2 separate regions of the Homo sapiens genome follow, and region 2 is linked to region 1. The links are contacts of gene promoters, found by promoter capture Hi-C in blood cells and fetal thymus (Javierre and others, 2016). All regions are on one chromosome and are shown on one strand. The core of a region is centred on a gene start or on the middle of the fragment in contact, and the rest is flanking DNA. Distances in the headings are between cores, read along the strand shown. Region 1 holds the start of SRPK3 (SRSF protein kinase 3). Region 2 holds the start of PDZD4 (PDZ domain containing 4).

Region 1 (2,856 bases), core at 1-2,500:
GCAGACAGGCTCTAGCAGCGAGGGCCCCCCCATTTGCCGGCCCTTGGCTGCCACACTGCTTTGCTCTTCCTGCAAAGGATACGGACTCCATTGACTCCTGAGATCCTGAAGTCATCAATGAGCTGGACAATGGTCTCTCTTTTGGGGTCACTGGGGTCGCTGTCCCGGACCTGGAGCAAAAGCCAAGGGGCCACAGATGGTTCCACCCTGCCCTGAAGCCCACAGCTCCCTTCAGTGTACCCTTCTCCTGCTCCAGCTGGGCCCTGCTGGAAGAAAGGCCGCCAACCCCTCCTGTCCCTCGCCTGTTCCTCCAGATCCTCCCCCTTGGGCACAGCCAGCTGGAGGCTGCCCCTCAGGGAGCCCCGCCCTGCCCCACAGAGCCCCGGCAGGCCTTGCACCCGCATTGCCAGGCCCCAGGCAGCTCCAGGGGAGCTGGGAGTGGGGTAGGGAGGTGCCTCACACATTTCAGGAGCTTGATCTCATCCACAGCTGTCTCCGTGTAATGCCCCGCACTCTTCACCACTTTGAGGGCCACAAAGCGCTTGCGCCTGCAATACCGAGACCCTTGTAGGCTGTGGCCCTGGCAGGACCCACGGCGGGGATCAGGGTGGCCCCAAGCAAGCCCAGGGACAGGATCCCAGCCAGTGCTGGGCCCCGGAGGCGAAGGAGGCACTCACTGGATGTCCCAGCAGAGCCAGACGGTGGAGAAGTGGCCCCAGCCCAGTTTGCGCACCACGTGGTACCGCCCATTGAACACGTCGCCGATCTTCACAGGGTGGTAGCCGCCTGCCCAGGGGAGATGTAGATTGGGGTGGAGGGGGTTCTCACTCCCCTGGGCCCCCGAACACCTCGGCCCCATTGACCATCTGGCCCATGTGGGCCCAGGACTGCCCTGGGTCCCTGCAGTGGCCGTGAGGCCGCATGTCCCCAAGGCCAAGTCTCACCCTTGCAGTAGTCTTTGGGGTCTTCCTGTTCCTCGTCGTCGGAGCCCAGAAGGCCCTGCAGCATCTGAGGCACCGGTGTGGCCAGGGCTAGTTCGGAGCCCGAGGACTCGGGCCCGCAGGAGGCCTGTGAGCTGCGGGTGGGGTGAGTGGCAGTGGGCATGAGAGACGCCAGGGGCTCCGGGTGCCCCAGCCGAGCCCTACCTGCTGCTACTGCCGCCGCTGCCGCCGCTGTCCCCACCACCGCCCGTGCTGGCGCTCATCCCGGCCACGCAGCCCGCAGCTCCGGTGCCCCGGGCGGCTGCTCCTGTGGGGCCCGGCCGCGGCCTGCGAATTTATAGCCTTGGCCGGCCGCTGATCTCACCCGCCTTTATAAATAGCCTCCCAGCTGCTCGGCTGTGGGCAAGGTATGCGGTGCGGGGAGGGGGCGGCGCGACGGCGGCCCCAGAGAGCCCGGCCCCCGGGCAGAGGCCCCCCTCCTGCTCCAGGCCCACCCTGGAGGCAGAGGGGGCTGCTGCTTGGGGACCAGGGGCAACTGGGCCCCCAGGCTGAGCCTCCGCACCCCAGCTGAGGGGGAGGTCCACGCGGGGGTGAAGCAGCCCGTACCCCAGGTCGGGCTCCCGTTCTCCGGTGCGGACTGTGGGGATGTGCTCCACTTGGCAACCTGGTCCTTAGGCCAAGCCCCCACCACCTGTGCCCCTGTGGGCATCCTCCTGGAGGTGCCCTTCTCATTCCCATGGGAACCCTGTCCCTGGCTGCTCCCAGCCACTTCCTGCTTCTTCTATGTTTCATCAGCCCCTAGGACAACTGGGAGTCCAGTGCCCTCTGAATGTGGCGTCACTGGGGACCCCTCATTTCCCCTACCAGAGGCAACAGGCCTGCTGAGGGGAGGCCTGGGAGCTTGCCAGCCCAGAACCTGCTCCTGCGACGCTGCCTGGCGCTCTGGCTCCCAGCGCCTGCTCTTCCTCTCCACCATTTGCAAGGTGCCTGTCGTGGGCTGCTCCATAGCCAGACATGAGGGAGGCAGCAGGAAGCTGCTCACTGCTGGGGACAAGCAAGCCCATAGCCACTTCCCCATGAGTGCGGTGGTGACTGAGGGGCCTGTGACCCAGGGGCTGCATCATGAGAGACCAGGAGAAATTGGGTCCCCAGAAGCATCCAGGGCAGCACAGGGCACAGTGGGGCAAGGCCTGCGGCCAAGACGCGTTCCAGCCCTTCACGTGCTGGCCACGGCTGCCGCATGGTTCGAGGGCGAGGACTAGAGGCCTGGTGTCTGTAGGCTTAATGTGGAGCTTGGGTGATATGGGGTTGGGGGGTGGTCACTGAGCTTCTGCTCAGCAAAAGATCACTCTGGCCACTTCAAGGACAAGGGAATGGAGAGGCGAGGGTGGAGCCGGGAGGCCAGCTGGGGCCTGACAGAGGAGTCCCAATGAAAGGGAGGGGGCTCGGCAGAGAGGGTGTTTGTCCCAAGATATTGGTGCAGTGTCCCTGTACCAGGGTCCGTGAACTGGTAGGGGTGGGCCAGGCATTGCTGGAGGGGCCAGCGAGGTCAGAGAGTGGGAGGGAAAGTGAAGCCCGGGTACCTGATGGCCTCTCTTTGTCTGTGGGTAGCAGGTTATAGGCATGGGGCTGAGGGACTCTCAGTCAGGAGAGCACTGAGTCAGCTCCTGCAGGGAACAGCAGGGGCTGGGGATTGGGCCCTTTGTCAAAAGACATTTCTGGCCAGGCGCGGTGGCTCATGCCTGTGATCCCAGCACTTTGGGAGGCTGAGGCGGGCAGATCACCTGAAGTCAGGAGTTTTGAGACCAGCCTGTCCGACATGGGGAAACCCTGTCTTTACTAAAAATACCAAAATTAGTCGGGTGTGGTGGCACACGCCTGTAGTCCCAGCTACTCGGGAGGCTGAGGCAGGAGA
Region 2 (2,925 bases), core at 372-2,871, 50 kb before region 1:
CGAACAGAGGGGACCATCTGGTGGAGGTCAGCCAGCTTCTCCCCAGGATGCGATGGACCCACGATGCCAGTGGCCATGGTGGGAGGGCTGGAGGCTCTGTATAAGCCCAACGGCAAGGGCTTCCTCTTACCACGGCTCATCTAGACACTGCCGCTAGTGAATGTTCTTCCATCCACCAGCTGCAGAGACCGATGCTGAGCCCTCAATATGACGCCATTCCTCAAGACTAGCCAGCCATTGGGTGGCAGGTTGCAACCTGCACACCAGCCCTTGTCTCAAGTTCTGCTTTCTGGGAGAAGCCCTGGATAAGAAACTCGCCTCTCTTCTCCACATTCTGGGCAGGCCCGCCATTCTTGATTTCTCTTCTAACGAGGAGCCAGGGAGGAAAGGAAGGGCTCCGATTCAACAGCCCCGTGTGGCTGGGGGTTCCCTCACTTGCCCAAACCTGGAAATGAAGCATGTAGCAATTTCTCCAAGTGATCTCCTGCAGCCGGGGCAGCCTCTGGGAACGCAGACTTCCACCCGCTGCTGCTTTCCAGGCAAAGGCCTTCTCCCTCCAGGCTTGTCCAAGAAGACGGGGAGGTGGTGGGAGAGAAGAGGAAGAGATGGAAGGGCTGTGAAAGCGGGGACCGGGTGAGGGCTGGGGCTGAGGAACAGGTAGGCGGCGGGCCCAGGCTGGCCAGTGCTGTGTGCAGGCCCGGGTCCCAAGGCCTCCGAGGCCACTCTCCCCACGACCCACCCCCTCCCCACGCTTCGCTCATCCTTTTTTCTTTCTCTCTTTCTTTTCTTTCCTCCCTTTCTCTCTTTCTTTCTTGTTTTAAACAAAGGTGTCCGTTTCAAAGACAGCAGGGAATGGCTGAGTTGAAGGAGGGATGCAGTCATTTAAGGCGAAGCCCGAGGAAGGAGCAGAGGCGTGAGGGCTGCTGCGTCCAAGACCGGGGAGAGGGGCTGAAATCGCGGACTCTCTCTGGGGGACCCAGGAGACTGCTCCTCCTGGCAGGACCCCTCTCTCCCAGAGCGGCATCGCGCAGACAACGCGCCTGGTGCCCGCCCCTCAGGACCGGACGCCGGGTGTCGTGGGGTGCCTAGGACCCCCGCCCGCTTCCGTCGAGCGCCCGCCCCCGGCTTCCCGCGCCGGCTCCAGCGCCCCCGCCGCTCCCTCCCGCAGCCGGCCCCGCTCCCCTCCCCGCCCCTCCCGGCGCGCGTGCGCCCCGTGCCCGCGCCCCTCCCCCGCCGCCGTGGGCGCGCTCGCGTGCCCGTCGTCCCGGGCGGGAGCTGGAGACGGCCAGCGGCTGCTGGACGAAGAGCGGGCGCCGGGAGCTCCGAGAGCGCGGCCGGGCGAGGCGGGAGCGCGGGCGCTGGCCTGGCCGCGGGCGGGGGCCGCCGCCGCGCCGCTGCCCCCCTGTCGCGGGCCGGGCCGCGGCGCCGAGCGCGAGGGCCGGGCTCCCGGGGCTGGCGGCCATGGGCAGGAGCCGGAGGCGGCAGCGGCAGCGGCGGGCCCCGCGGGCGGGGAGGCGCGCGGCCCACGGCCCCTGACGGCCCCTGGCGGCCCGGCGCGCCCCCGCGCTCCCTGGGGGGCCGTAGCCTGGCAACGCCCGGCGCGCCCGCCCATCCCCCGCTGCCCTTTTTCTCCTGGCCGGGTGCGAGGGAGCATGCCCGCGCCTGGCCTCGGCCAGCGAAGAGTTAACCTGAGGGGCGAGCCGCTGCCCCCACCTCGGGGGCGTGCCCCCCTCCCCCGCTAGGCGGCCCGCCCCCCGCGCCAGGGTATGGCCCCTGGCCCCGGCCCGGGACCCGAGGTCCCGCGCCCGGGTCAGTGAAAGGCGTCTTCCCGTTCCCGCCCTCCGCCTCCTCTCGCCGGCCAGCAACATGGGATGTAATATGTGCGTGGTCCAGAAACCGGAGGAGCAGTACAAAGTGATGCTGCAGGTAGGGCCGCCGGCGCTGCGGCGGGGGCGCGGCCCTCCGCGGGGAGGAGCGGGCCAGTGGGGAGGCCCGGAGCGGCGGGCGTGGGAGAGCGGGAGGGCTCGAGGAGGACAAGGTAGGGAGCCGTCCGCACCCTCCCATCCTGGGGCTGTTGGGTGTTGGCGCTCCGTGGGAACCAGCCACGGGTGGGGTGGGAAGTTGGGGTTGGCCCGGGTGGGGCGCGCTTCCGTCCCGGGAGGCGCGGTGCGGCGGGCGCGGGATGGAGGTTGCATAGCAACGAGCGCAGTTCCCCGCACACGCTCTCCCCGCAGGACCCAGGGCGGGGGAGGGAGCCAGGCTCCCGCCGTGCGGGGGGCGCCGAATCTAGATCCCGGCGGGCCTGGAGCGTGGGAGTGCGTGGGCGTCCCCGGGCGCGGTCCAAGTCCGTCCGGGGGCTGGGTGCCCACCCCGACACCCACTCCCGCCTGGCCCTGCCCGAACGATGGGCTCCCGGGCCTTAGGCGTCTCGGGTGAGTGGGCGCCGCCGGGATCAGCGGGTTGGGCTCTCTGCGGGTGGCAGTGCCTGGCCGGGCTTTGCGGGGCGTGGACCAGCAGGGCCCCGCGGGGAGGGAAGGAGACGCGGGGCCCGGAGCTCGGACCTGGAGCCCAGCCCCGCGGCCCGGAACGGGGCTTCTTGCCTGTGCGTGGCGTGACTACGTGAGTGCGTTCCTGTGCCCCGTCTCTGTGTGCGCGGAGGCTCCCCCGGCCCCGCATTTGTGTACTTTCTGTGTGCACCCTGCAGACTGTCTAGAGAAATGTCCCGGATGCTGTGGGCTGAGACCTCCTAGGGCTAAGTGGAGGGAGGTCAAGGTCAAGGCACCCAGGAGCAGACAGGGCTCAGACAGGTATGCGTTTAGTGGCCTGGATTCAACTCCCGGGTTTATTGGTCTGGACTGGGAAGGAATCAAGTGCTTTGCAGGAGGGGTGTTGGCTTGGGAGAACGTGGGGGAACCCGTGCAGGGA

What was found. The method cuts DNA at HindIII sites, captures the fragments that hold promoters and counts their contacts. A CHiCAGO score of 5 or more calls a contact.
Region 2: the fragment with the promoter of PDZD4 here is called in contact with the fragment with the promoter of SRPK3 in region 1 in 17 of 17 cell types (M2 macrophages, naive CD8 T cells, non-activated CD4 T cells and 14 more); the score reaches 14.3 in M2 macrophages.

What each region holds. Positions count from the first base shown.
Region 1 is chrX:153,779,435-153,782,290 of GRCh38, reverse strand. It overlaps SRPK3 (SRSF protein kinase 3), which reads right to left and starts at 1,250. Exons shown (of 15, transcript NM_014370.4): 1 at 1,146-1,250; 2 at 945-1,075; 3 at 678-786; 4 at 461-548; 5 at 83-170. The coding sequence starts at 1,204. LOC124905227 (a long non-coding RNA gene) reads left to right here. Exons shown (of 2, transcript XR_007068355.1): 2 at 1-2,856. The HindIII fragment of the contact is 52,875 bases long and covers 1-2,856 here.
Region 2 is chrX:153,829,240-153,832,164 of GRCh38, reverse strand. PDZD4 (PDZ domain containing 4) reads left to right here and starts at 1,621. Exons shown (of 8, transcript NM_001303512.2): 1 at 1,621-1,926. The coding sequence starts at 1,867. The HindIII fragment of the contact is 12,640 bases long and covers 1-2,925 here.